Linked DNA regions of Homo sapiens: region 1 is linked to region 2. The links are contacts of gene promoters, found by promoter capture Hi-C in blood cells and fetal thymus (Javierre and others, 2016). All regions are on one chromosome and are shown on one strand. The core of a region is centred on a gene start or on the middle of the fragment in contact, and the rest is flanking DNA. Distances in the headings are between cores, read along the strand shown. Region 1 holds the start of OVOL3 (ovo like zinc finger 3). Region 2 holds the start of IGFLR1 (IGF like family receptor 1).

What was found. Contacts are between HindIII fragments. The CHiCAGO score rates a contact against its expected background, and 5 or more counts as called.
Region 1: a contact is called between the fragment with the promoter of OVOL3 here and the fragment with the promoter of IGFLR1 in region 2, in 1 of 17 cell types (neutrophils). The highest score is 5.3, in neutrophils.

The regions. Positions count from the first base shown.
Region 1 is chr19:36,105,888-36,112,808 of GRCh38, forward strand. It overlaps OVOL3 (ovo like zinc finger 3), which reads left to right and starts at 5,256. Exons shown (of 4, transcript NM_001302757.2): 1 at 5,256-5,409; 2 at 5,482-5,546; 3 at 6,873-6,921. The coding sequence starts at 5,316. It also overlaps a transcript of WDR62 not described here. RefSeq lists enhancers at 4,855-5,485, 5,486-6,115. The HindIII fragment of the contact is 18,213 bases long and covers 1,320-6,921 here.
Region 2 is chr19:35,740,038-35,744,936 of GRCh38, forward strand. IGFLR1 (IGF like family receptor 1) reads right to left here and starts at 2,415. Exons shown (of 5, transcript NM_024660.4): 1 at 2,359-2,415; 2 at 987-1,186; 3 at 343-527; 4 at 1-51. The coding sequence starts at 1,143. It overlaps U2AF1L4 (U2 small nuclear RNA auxiliary factor 1 like 4), which reads right to left. Exons shown (of 6, transcript NM_001040425.3): 3 at 4,286-4,384; 4 at 3,975-4,108; 5 at 3,772-3,867; 6 at 2,490-2,766. The coding sequence ends at 2,682. RefSeq lists enhancers at 1-363, 711-820, 2,168-2,597 and silencers at 501-630, 3,933-4,093. The HindIII fragment of the contact is 10,043 bases long and covers 1-4,899 here.

The DNA of each region.
Region 1 (6,921 bases), core at 4,006-6,505, 370 kb after region 2:
GGGGTTTTGCCATGTTGGCCAGGCTGGTCTCAAACTCCTGACCTTGGGAGATCCGCCCACCTCGGCCTCCCAAAGTGCTGGGATTACAGGCATGAGCCACCGCACCTGGCCAAAACCCCGTCTCTTTAAATAAAACAAAATAAAACAAGAAACCCAGGCAGGCTTGCCCACTGTATGATCCTGGCAGCAGGCCCAGGCCACGAGCAGCTGGGACCAATAACTGCTTCCCCTTCAGAAGTTCTACATTCCACGAGCTCCCAGCACTGCTACCAGCTCCCCCAGACAGCAGGCATCTGGCCACATGGGGTGTCTGCTAAAAAAGCCACTCTTGGCTGGGGTGTGGTGGTGCACACCTGTAGTCCCAGCTACTCAGGAGGTTGAGGCAGGAGAATCGCTCAAACCCAGGAGGCAGAGGTTTCAGTGAGCTGAGATCACACCATCATTGTACTTCAGCCTGGGTGACACAGCAAGTCTCAAAAAAAAAAAAAAAAAAAATCCTGCCAGTTCCCACCCAGGTGCCGGGCACTGTAGCAGAAGGAACATCAGGCAACGCACCTGCCCTCATGGCCACTCACCTTCTATACAGTCAAACAGATGCAGGAATTAGAGCTCTGTATAATTCTAGATAGGTTGGGGAGATCCATTGCTGGTGAAGGGTCAGGGAAGGCCTTTCGAGGTGACATTTGGGCTGAAGCTTGATAGAGGACATCTCAGGAACACATCCAGGCCGACAGCACAGCCAGTGCACAGGCCTGGGGCAGCCACACGTGATCTGTGTGGAAGCAAGAGGAGCGAAGCCCGGACGGCTGGAATGGAGTGAGCAAGGGGAGGGCAGGAGCTGAGGTGCAAGGAGGAGCAGGGCCTTGTTGCTTCATAACATTTAAGTCCAAGGAATATCCAGAACAGTTTTTTGTTTTTGGGTTTGTTTCTAAATCTCTGCTCTTAATGTTTGGGGGATATCCAGTGTTGCTTATTTCTCACGACTCTGCCTCAGGGAGTCCAGGTGGTCCAGAACTTGAACCACCTGCCTAGGCCTAGGCCCATCTGCCTAGTTCGGCCACCATTGCCCAAAACCTTGCCCAACATCCCTGGGCAAAGCTTGGTGTTCAGCCCCCCAGGCCTCGGACACCCAGGAGACCACCTTGGGCCTCTGTCATGCATGGAATTACCCTTCCTTCCAACCTGTATCATAGTAAAGTCTTCTGCTCCAAGGAGTAAACACCTGGCTTTCAGGGCCCAAGATGGAGGGACGTTGGTTACCCTTGATGTCATCATGCACCTGGCCTCTTCCTCTCCTGCTCTGTTATCCTCTGTGAGCAAGCTTCAGTCTCCAGCTTATGGCCTCATGGTTGCAACACGGCTGCTGTGGCACCCAGCAGCACACCCTCAGGTGGTGTCTCCATTTTGCAATTGTTGGCTTTCCTGCAGCCCTGACTGAAGTGCCTGGCATAAGCCTGGAAGCGCAGGAGCTAGAAGCTGCCCCGATAGTACTGCTATGGGGAGGCTGAGGTTAGATGTGGAGTGCAGGGGGCTCACAGAGGGTGACAGCAGGAGAGGAAGAGGCCAGGTGCACAATGACATGAGGGTCAGAGGCCCAAGTTATTGGTCCCAGCTGCTGGGTGGCCTGGTCCAACCAGGAGCAAAGGCACAGAGCAGGGCACCCTCTAGGGCAGCAGAAAAGATGCAGATCTCTCCCAGGGGTCTCCCTGGGAGACTCATCTGGGGTCAGATGAGTCCCAGGCAACAGGAATGGAGATTGCTTTGATGTGCTTGGACCATCTCTCCTGTCCTGGGCATGTTGCAGCTCAAACAAAGAGGTTCTCTCAATAAGAAAGGCAAGTGGGCTGGTAATCAGAGAGGATCCAGCATGTCTGCCACTTCCCTCTTCCAAATGCCAGGCTCTGTCCTGGAAGGACCATACTTTCTCCATACTTCTTAACCAGGATAAACCACCTGGTTAAGAAGCCACTGCTGGTGGTGCAGCATGTGTGCATGTGGTTTGTGAGCTGACAGGGTCCCAGCAGAAAGATGACAGCATGCTTAGATGGGATATTCCAAAGAGTTTAACCAAGGGATCATTTGCAAAGGAGCAGCAGGGACTGGGAAACCACCGAGGCTGGTGCAGAACCCCAGGACTGGCACCCTGGGAGCTGTTACCACCCCCAGGCCACAAGGCACAAAGAGAAGGAACAAGAACCCAAAAGAGCAAATCCCAGGGAGAGGGTAGTGCTGAGGGAGCTGCAGCCCTGACTCCCACACAGGACGGAGTGAGAATCAACACCCTGACCTTACTCCCCTCCTGCAGGGCACCCCATTGTCCAAATCCTACTGGAAGCCAGAGTGCATAGAAGCCCAGGTGACCCCGCCTCCAGTCAACCTCCTAGGCCATGGAGCAGGGCAGAACAGGACTGAGAGGGTTCCTGGGGAACTGGGTCCCTGGAAGGAAAACAGTTCATCTTTCACTGCAACTCCCCCCCTGCTTCTACCCCCACATCTACCCTTGGCCTCCCCATAGCAGTACCATCAGGACAGCTCCTGGGTCCTGAGCTGCCAGGCCCGTGCCAGGCATCCCAGTCAGGGCTGCAGGAAAGCCAACAATTGCAAAATGGAGACACCACCTGAAACCCCATTTTGCAGATGACCCACCTGAGGCCTGGATGTTTGCCCAGAGGAGGGATTCCTCGGCAGGATGCAGTGGCTCATTCCTGTAATCCCAACACTTTGGGAGGCCAAGGCAGGCAGACGGTTTGAGCTCAGGAGTTCAAAACCAGCCCTAGGCAACATAGCAAGACTCCACCTCTACAAAAAATTTTAAAATTAGCTAGGTGTGGTGGTGCACGCCTGTAGTCCCAGCTACTTGGGAGGTTGATGTGGGAGGATCACTTGAGCCCAGGAGCTTGAGGCTACAGTGAGCTGTGTTCACTCCACTGCACTCCAGCCTAGGTGACAAAGCAAGGCCCTGTCTCAAAAAAAAAAAAAAAAAAAAACCTTCCTAACCAATCCCTGCTTATATGTCTGCCACATGCCAGGCCCCATGCTAAGCATTCTCTCCATGTGAGCTACATGGATCTTCAATACAAACTGGGAAGAGGGAGATTCCTTAGTCTCATTTTCCAGGTGAAGAAACCGAGGCCCAATGAGAAATGACTTGCTCTGGGTCCTGCAGAGAGCAAGCGGAAATGCATGGCCAGCAGACCCTCAGCACTGCCACCCTTGCTTCCCCAAATGAATTGGCACAACTGACTCTCGGGCAATGTAAAGAAATGAAGAAATACTCCTCTCACCAGCAAGCCTTGTACAGATGTCCCCCTCTGACTAGAACACCCTCCCCTTTCATCTGAAACCTTTCAGCGCTTATCCAGGAAGCCATCCCTGTACCCGTAGCCTGGATCAGGAGCCTGTTCGGGTCCCCAGGTACCCCTCTTTTCCCCATCATGGCTGGGTCTCTGCCTCACTTGCCTCTCACTGTCTTGGTCATTCTGGGCTGTCACTGGTGTGCCTCCTTCATGGACTTACGCGATCATTTTCAGTAAGCTAGGTCTGGAGCTTAGAAAATTGTTTAGTTGCCAGGCGCAATGGCTCACGCCTGTAATCCCAGCACTTTGGGAGGTTGAGGCAGGTGGATCACTCGAGGTCAGGAGTTTGAGACCAGCCTGCCCAACATGGTGAAACCCTATCTCTACTAAAAATACAAAAATTAGCCGGGTGTGGTGGTGCGCACCTGTAGTCCCAGCTACTTGGGGGACTGAGGCAGCAGAATCGCTTGAACCCAGGAGACGGAGGCTGCAGTGTGTGGAGATCGTACCACTGCACTCCAGCCTGGGCAACAGAGTGAGAATCTGTCTCAAAAAACAAAACAAAACAAAACAAAAAAAATAAAAACAGGTTGGGCGCGGTGGCTCACGCCTGTAATCCCAGCACTTTGGGAGGCTGAGCCGGGCGGATCACCTGCATTTAGGAGTTTGAGACCAGCCTGGCCAACATGGTGAAACCCCATCTCTACAAAAAACACAAAAAATCAGCTGGGTGCAGTGGTGTGCCCCTGTAATCCCAGCTACTTGGAAGGCTGAGGCAGGAGACTCACTTGAACCCAGGAGGCGGAGGTCATAGAGGAGCCAAGATCACGCCATTGCACTCCAGCCTGGGCAACGAGCAAAACTCCGCCTCAAAAAAAAAAAATTAAAAAACAGAGCTTGGATTGCTTCTTAGTCTTCTGGCTAAGAATCAAGTGTAAAACAGCTTGGCCAGTGTGCCGGGGTAGGGTCCTGGGAGCCCCTGGCTGTGTCAAGAGACCCCCTTTGGGCCAGGTGCGGTGGCTCATGCCTGTAATCCCAGCACTTTGGGAGGCCAAGGCAGGCGGATCACTTGACGTCAGGAGTTCAAGACTAGCCTGGCCAACATGGTGAAACTCTGTCTCTACCAAAAATACAAAAATTAGCCCGGTGTGGTGGTGCATGCCTGTAGTCCCAGCTACTCAGGAGGCTGAGGCAGGAGAATCGTTTGAACCCGGGAGGTGGAGGTTCCAGTGAGCCAAGATGGTGCCACTGCACTCCAGCCTGGGCAACAAGAGTGAAACTCCGTCTCAAAAAAAGAAAAAAAAATAGGAGACCCCCTTTTACTTTCCAGACTGTGGGAGGGAGGAAGAGTGTTGTCCCAGGCAGTAACTAGGGGCTAGATTATTAACAAACTAGTATTTTAGTGCCTGCTACACCTGAACAGTGCTTCTGGCTGAATGTTAGCCCTGGGAATCTGAAGATCAGAGAGGTGGGGCATCCTACCTGAGGATGCACAGCCTGGATCCTCATTTTGCCCTGATTTATCCAGATCTGCTGTCCTCCCTGCACCCTACAGAGCAGGGCAATCACAGCAGGGGGCCCCTTCAGTGTCCTCAGACAGCTGCTGTGATTTGAATAACCAGGCAGGCTGCTGGATGTCCCCTGGTGACTGATTTGCCTGGCAAACAGACCCTCAACCCCTGGGAGACAGTCCCCCTGGGGCCTTGTTTCTTCTTCCTATCCTCAAAAGCTCCCCAGGCCCATCTCCCCTTGCCTGGCTCTGCTTGGTGGTCCTAGTGCTTGTCCACCCCTGGAGGCTGGATGGTTCCCTCCAAAACCTGGGAGAAGATGGGCAGGTCCCCAGGCAGGGGTAACCTGAGCCAGCTTAGTCCACTCCCAGGGCCAGCCAGGAAATTTGCATGAAGAGAATGAGGTTCCTCAGAGGCTTCCCCTCCTTTCCCACCAGGGATAGTCATCCTGGGGCTGAGGTCTGACAGCAGGTGGAAGCAGCCCCTGTGTGTGGAGAGCCTTCCGGAGGGCATGCCCCGCGCCTTCCTGGTCAGGAGTCGGCGTCCACAGCCCCCCAACTGGGGCCATCTGCCTGACCAGCTCCGGGGAGATGCCTATATCCCAGGTGGGCCCCTCACTGTGCCTGGAGGTAAGGGGCAGGAGAGACGCAGTGTCACCATCTGGCTTTTCTCCTCAGACTGCAGCAGCCTGGGGGGGCCACCGGCACAACAGTCGTCCAGTGTCAGGGATCCGTGGACAGCGGTGAGTGTGTAACTGGCTAGCAAAGCCAGCTGTTTCGCTCCTGCCTGCTCTCAGCCTTAATGAAGCTGACAGCCCCTTGCTCCCCCGACCCATCTGCACACGCCCTCCAGCCTCGGGACCTGTCCGCCCCTACTTCTCTGTGTTGGGAATGCCTCTCCTTTCCTAGTAGTGAGCTCTCTACTGTTAGGTCTCACCCCAGGCACCAGGGCCGGCAGCCACAGGGATCTCTTCCAGCGGGGCACAAGATTCATCCCCACATGTGGATGATCCGCTTTATGTCAGAACATGGGACAAGGCAACAGGAGTGCGATGGGAGATAAGGGCTTTTTCAGCTGTGCATGCATTGGAGGAAGGAAAGCGCCAGCCGGAATGTAATATATTCATGAAAGCAAGGCACTGTTCTAGGCATGGGCTGTTATATTCAGCGGGAATAAGACAAAAATCCACAATTTTATGGAGCTTATATTCTGGTTGGGGCTGCATGTATAGACAATAAAATTAGTCAGCCTGTAATTCCAGCACTTTGGGAGGCCGAGGCGGGTGAATCACTTGAGGTCATGAGTTCGAGACCAGGCTGGCCAACATGTTGAAACCTTGTCTCTACTAAAATTACAAACATTAGCCAGACATGGTGGCACGTGCCTGTAATCCCAGCTCCTCAGGAGGCTGAGGCAGGAGAATCAGTTGAACCTAGGAGGCAGGGCAGAGGATGCAGTGAGCCGAGTCTGCGCCACTGCACTCCAGCCTGGGAAACAGATCTAGACTCCATCCCCCCTCAAAAAAAACAATAAAATTAGAAAAATAGACCGGGCATAGTGGCTCATGCCTGTAATCCCAGCACTTTGTGAGGCCAAGGTGGGTGGATTGCTTGAGGTCAGGAATTCAAGACCAGCCTGGCCAACATGGTGAAACCCCATCTCTACAAAAAATAAAAAAATTAACTGGGCATGTGGCGCATGCCTACAATCGTGTAATCGTGGGGAGGCTGAGGCACTAGAATCGCTTGAACCCGGGAGGCGGAGGTTGCAGTGACCTGACATCATACCACTTCACTCCTGCCTGGGCGACAGAGCAAGACTCTGTCTTTAAAAAAAAAAAATGTGTATGTCACATCAGAAGATGGGACTTGGCATAGAGAAAGTAAGGACCATGGGATAGTGAGGGAAGGCCCTGGAGAGTGACAGGCACACACACTAATCACTGTCTCCCACCTGCCTTCCTAATCCTCCGTGGTGGCTCAGGACACTCTGTAAATACTCATTTGCAGAGTAACAAAGGGTGGATGGGGTCCAGCCAGAGAGGCTAATAACTCCTGCATCCCTCCAGCAGCCCACACAGGGCAACCTGACCTCTGCTCCCAGGGGCCCTGGGACGC
Region 2 (4,899 bases), core at 1,165-3,664:
GCCTGGGTTTCCAGGTGTGAGGGGGCAGTGCCCCTTGGCAGGGACCGGCCTCTGGGGATAAGGGGTTGGAGTAAAGCTGGAGGCCACACTCCACTCCTGCCCGCTCCCAAACCTCCCAACTTTATATCCTTTAATGGGGCCACATCCCATCTGATACGGTATCTGATAAGGTAGTTGGGCCCCGCAAGGCCCAACTACCTTAACCTAGGACCTCCCGACCCCTGCAGGCCAGCCACCTCCTGAAACCACGGCCCCACCCCTTACGTGGGGCTACGCCGGCTCCCTACATCTAGGCCCCCCACCTCCAGCACGCCCTTGCCCTGCCGGGAGTCCCATCTGCACCTCTCTGCAGCGCCACGGGGTTCTGCCCCCGCCCGCGGCGGGAGTAGGGGTCACGGCTCCGCCGCCGCAGGGGCTACATAGCTCCGCGCCGTCGGGGTTGCACTGCCCAGAAGAACACTTTCGGAACGGGGGCGTTACGAAATCGCCGTGGTCATTGAGTCCGCAGTTTTCCCGGAACTCATAGTCTAGCGGGAAAGCTGCGCTCCAGTGCGGCCGCCTAGCCCGCCCCTGCGCGGGCAACGCCCTCTCCCTTCGCCCTATCCCAGCGTGCCCCGCCCCTCCAGGACGCTTCCAGCCTATTAGCGTGCGCCCCGGTCTTGTCACTTTTCTCCGGGCTCGCCTTTTCACCCCCCTCCAGCCTGCTCCGCACGAAGCTCCGCCCACTCCCGGCTTCTCTACATAAAGCCCACCCTTTCCACGCGGCCCCTATCCCGCCTCTCCAGCCATATCCATTCGCTGTTGCCCTACGGTAGCCCGCACTATCTGCACAGGCTCTGCCTGCCATCCCTGTCTGATCTGCATAAGGCCCACCGCTTAGACCCCTAAGCAAGCCTCTCTGGCCCGTAGCCCACAGACCTCGCCCCTTCCCCGCTCCCTATCACCTGCAAGCTCCGCCCAAGCAAGGCTCGGTCTCGGATTCTCACCCGGGCAGGGGGGCGGCCCGAAGCGTTGCAGGCAGCTGCTGCAGCACTTGTTGTCTGGGTTCCAGTATTCAAGGCGGCCGCAGTACTGGGAGGCTTCCGGCGGTGGCGCCAGGGCCAGAAGCAACAAGGCCGTCAGGAGGCATCGTCCAGGCCCCATCTGGGGGGCCGTGATAGCGGGACTTCCAAACACAGCGCCTCTGCTACACTTTCCGGGGAAATCGGGCAGAAGAAAGGACGCGGTGATGTGGGGGAACAGAATTCTCACGCCTCTTCGGAAGCCGGGAATCTACCCCCGAGCCCTCATCCCCCAACTGAGCCGGTTATCAGAGAAGCCCACAAGGCCACTAGGGGACTAACAGGGCTGCGGATCTAGATTGCAAGAATGCATATCCCACCTCTGCCGTGTCCTCACCCACCCACCCTCCCTTTTCCATCCCTAAAATAAGACAATGATAGCACCTGTCTCATAGGGTTATTGTGGAGAATTAGAACCGTCATTAGAAGTAAAGCAGGGGCTGGGTGTGGTGGCTCATGCCTGTAATCCCAACACTTTGGGAGGCCAAGACAGGAGGATCACTTGAGCCCAGGAGTTCGAGAGATCAGCCTGGACAACAAAATGAAACCCCATCTTTACAAAAAAAAAAAAAAAAAAAAAAAACAGCAAAGCACTTTGCCAAGTGCAGTGGCTCACGTCTGTAGTCCCTGCTACTAGGGAGGCCAAGGTAGGAGGATTGCTTGAGCCATGAATTACAGACCAGCCTGGGCAACACAGCAAGACCTCATCTCTAAAAACAAAAAAAACTGGCCGCCGGGCGCAGTGGCTCATGCCTGTAATCCCAACACTTTGGGAGGCCCAGGTGGGTGGATCACCTGAGGTCAGTAGTTCAAAACCAGCCTGGCCTACATGGTGAAACCCTGTCTCTATTAAAAATACAAAATTAGCCGGGCGTGGTAGCGCATGCCTGTAAATCCCAGCTACTTGGGAGGCTGAGGCAGAATTGCTTGAACCTGGGAAGTGGAGGCTGCAGTGAGCTGAGATCGTGCCATTGCACTCCAGCCTGGGCAACAGGAATGAAACTCCTTAAAAAAAACAAAAACAAACTAAAGTGCTGAAAACAGCACCTCACATACAGTAAACTCAGTGTTTAAGTGTAAGGCATTACTAACTCCCATCACAATTCGGCAGGCACGGAGGAGTCAGCCCCATACTGGCTGGAGACCACCTCCCAGCACCTCACCTCACCTTTGAATCCTAATCTCCTTGGGGCTAGGGCTCCTCCCACCTGCCACAACCAGGTCTCTCCCCCTTGAATAAGCCTCAGATGGAGGTGCTAAGGTTTTCAGCACAAAGGTGTCCCCACCCTACCAGTACCGTTAGGGTCCTGGGTCCCAAGCTGGCCGTGCCAAGTTCCTCAGCTGAAGTTGTGGCCAGGACCCAGTCTTGTTTCCCCTTTTCGTCACATGTGTGGGTGGAGGGAAATGCCAAACCACAGCAAAAGCAAGTTGATGCCGAAGTGAAACACGCAGCTTTATTAAGACAGGGGCGGTAGAAGAAGGTCTCCATGCTGAACAGATTACATTATGGAGCCCGGGAGCCTGGGAAGGATGGGGCAGGAGAGTGAAGGGGGCTTTGAGGAGAGGTCCTGCCAGGAACATCTGTCCCTGTTGGGGGTGAAGGGTAAGGGGGCCAGGGCCTCAGAAGCGGCCATGCCAGTGATCAGGGGAACACCGATGGTTCCTCTCTCGGGGATGGTGGCCAGTATGGAACCTCGGGGGTGACCTGGGAATAGGAGCGTTGAGAGTTCTGTTAGAACCCTGAGGAGTGGTGCAGAGATCCTGCAGGCCTGCCTCTCTGCTCTGGGATGAGGCAGGAGGGTGCTGAAATAACTAGAGTTCTAAGACACGACCTCAGTGGCCAGTATCAGGGGAACTCAGTGGCCAGTATCAGGGGTGGCAATCCAGGCTGGTCGTGGATTAGGGGTTCAGGCTGGTTTGGGGATTGGGACTTAGGTACTGGTCTCCAGATGGAGCTCAGAACTACTCTTAGGGTATAAGAGTCTTGGGAATGACCGGGCGCAGTGGTTCACGCCTGTAATCCCCACACTTTGGGAGGCCGAGATGGGTGGATTACCTGAGGTCCGGAGTTCGAGACCAGGCTGGCCAACGTGGTGAAACCCCATCTCTACTAAAAATACAAAAATTAGCCAGGCATGGTGGCAGGTGCCTATAATCCCAGCTACTTGGGAGGCTGAGAAAGGAGAATTGCTTGAACCTGGGAGGCAGAGGTTGCACTGAGCCAAGACTGCGCCTTTGCACTCCAGCCTGCGGAAGAAGAGCAAAACTCCGTCTCAAAAAAAAAAAAAAAAAAAAAAAAAAAAAACAGTCAGCCGGGAGTGGTGGCTCACGCCTGTAATCCCAGCACTTTGGGAGGGTGAGGCAGGTGGATCACGAGGTTAGGAGTTCAGACCAGCCTGGCCAAGATGGTGAAACCCCATCTCTACTAAAAACACAAAAATTAGCCGGGCATGGTGGCAGGTGCCTGTAATCCCAGCTATTTGGGAGGCTGAGGCAGAGAATTGCTTGAACCCGGGAGGCGGAAGTTGCCATGAACCAAGATGGTGCCAATGCACTCCAGCCTGGGCAACAGAGTGAGGCTCCATCTCAAAAAAAAAAAAAAAAAAAAAAGATTCTTGGGAACGTGGTTACTGGGGCTTAGGGTTAGGCTCATCTGAGGATATAGGGGCCTTAGGACATGAGGAGACATAGCAGGCTGGTCCTGAGGTACCTGCGCCTGGGTCCCCGCCCATAGAGCTGCCTCTGGAGGTTCTGGGAAATGGGCCGCAGATGCATGAAGTTGCAGAAGCCACCTCGGGTACATTCCCTGCATAGAGGGTAGAGAGATGGAGGAAGCCATTGTCACTGACAGCCCCTACCACGCATTCAAAGTCTGGGATTCCAAGTGCCCATCCCACCCTTGAACTACCATACCCCATCTCATACTGGCGACAGCATGACTCCCGGAAGTCAGTGACAGGAGACAGCTCACCGTGCACAGCCTGCCCGTTGAACCAGCGGTTACTGAGTTCAGCCACGGCCCGCTCTCCATCCTCCTCCCTCCGGAACTGCAGGAAATGTCAGTCAGGGTCAGCAGGAGAACTCAGAGATCTTCAGGGGACTCACTACCCGCTCTGGGGCTGGACTGGATTTAGTGATGAAATTCAAGCTGAGAGCCTACAGTGGCCACCATCAGGCATTGAAACGCCTCCACTTCTGGGCCCTAAGTGGGGGGCAGCAAGCACCTTGACATAGACGTTGCCCACGAGGTGGTCCCCAAGGTTGTCGCACACATTCATCTCTTCAATCTCCCCATACTTCTCCTGCAGTTCTGTGAACACCTCCTGTGGAAGACGGGGAGGAACTCAGCTGAGCTCCCACAAGAAACCCCATCTGCCCCTACCAACCCTCACCTCGAAGAAGCTATCATAGTGCTCCTGCACCTCCACGTCACTCACATGACCTGGGGTGGGGGCGGGCAGGGTGGAATCAGAGTGTAGCCTACTGGGGGCTGTTCACCTTGCCCCCAGGCCTGGTCCCTTACTCACAGTGTGATCCGTCTGCAGTTTGGGCTGTGTTCTGTGGATTCCGGTACAGGTTGAGCAGCACTATGGTCTGCACAGAATTTAAAAGGGGCGGGGCCTGAGCTCAGAGGGCAGGGCTGCATGAACAGAGAGTGAGGCATGAAGGTTGGGGGTGGAACCTTACACCCCAGCCTAAGCATCATGAGTGCATCGGCGATCCTTTGCCCCTAAGAAACCAGAAAAGGGATGGAGGGGACTGGCAAGGATGAACAGCGGGATGGAAGGGACTGGCAAAGATGAACAGCCGCCGTGTGTAGCCTGTACGCATGGGGGCG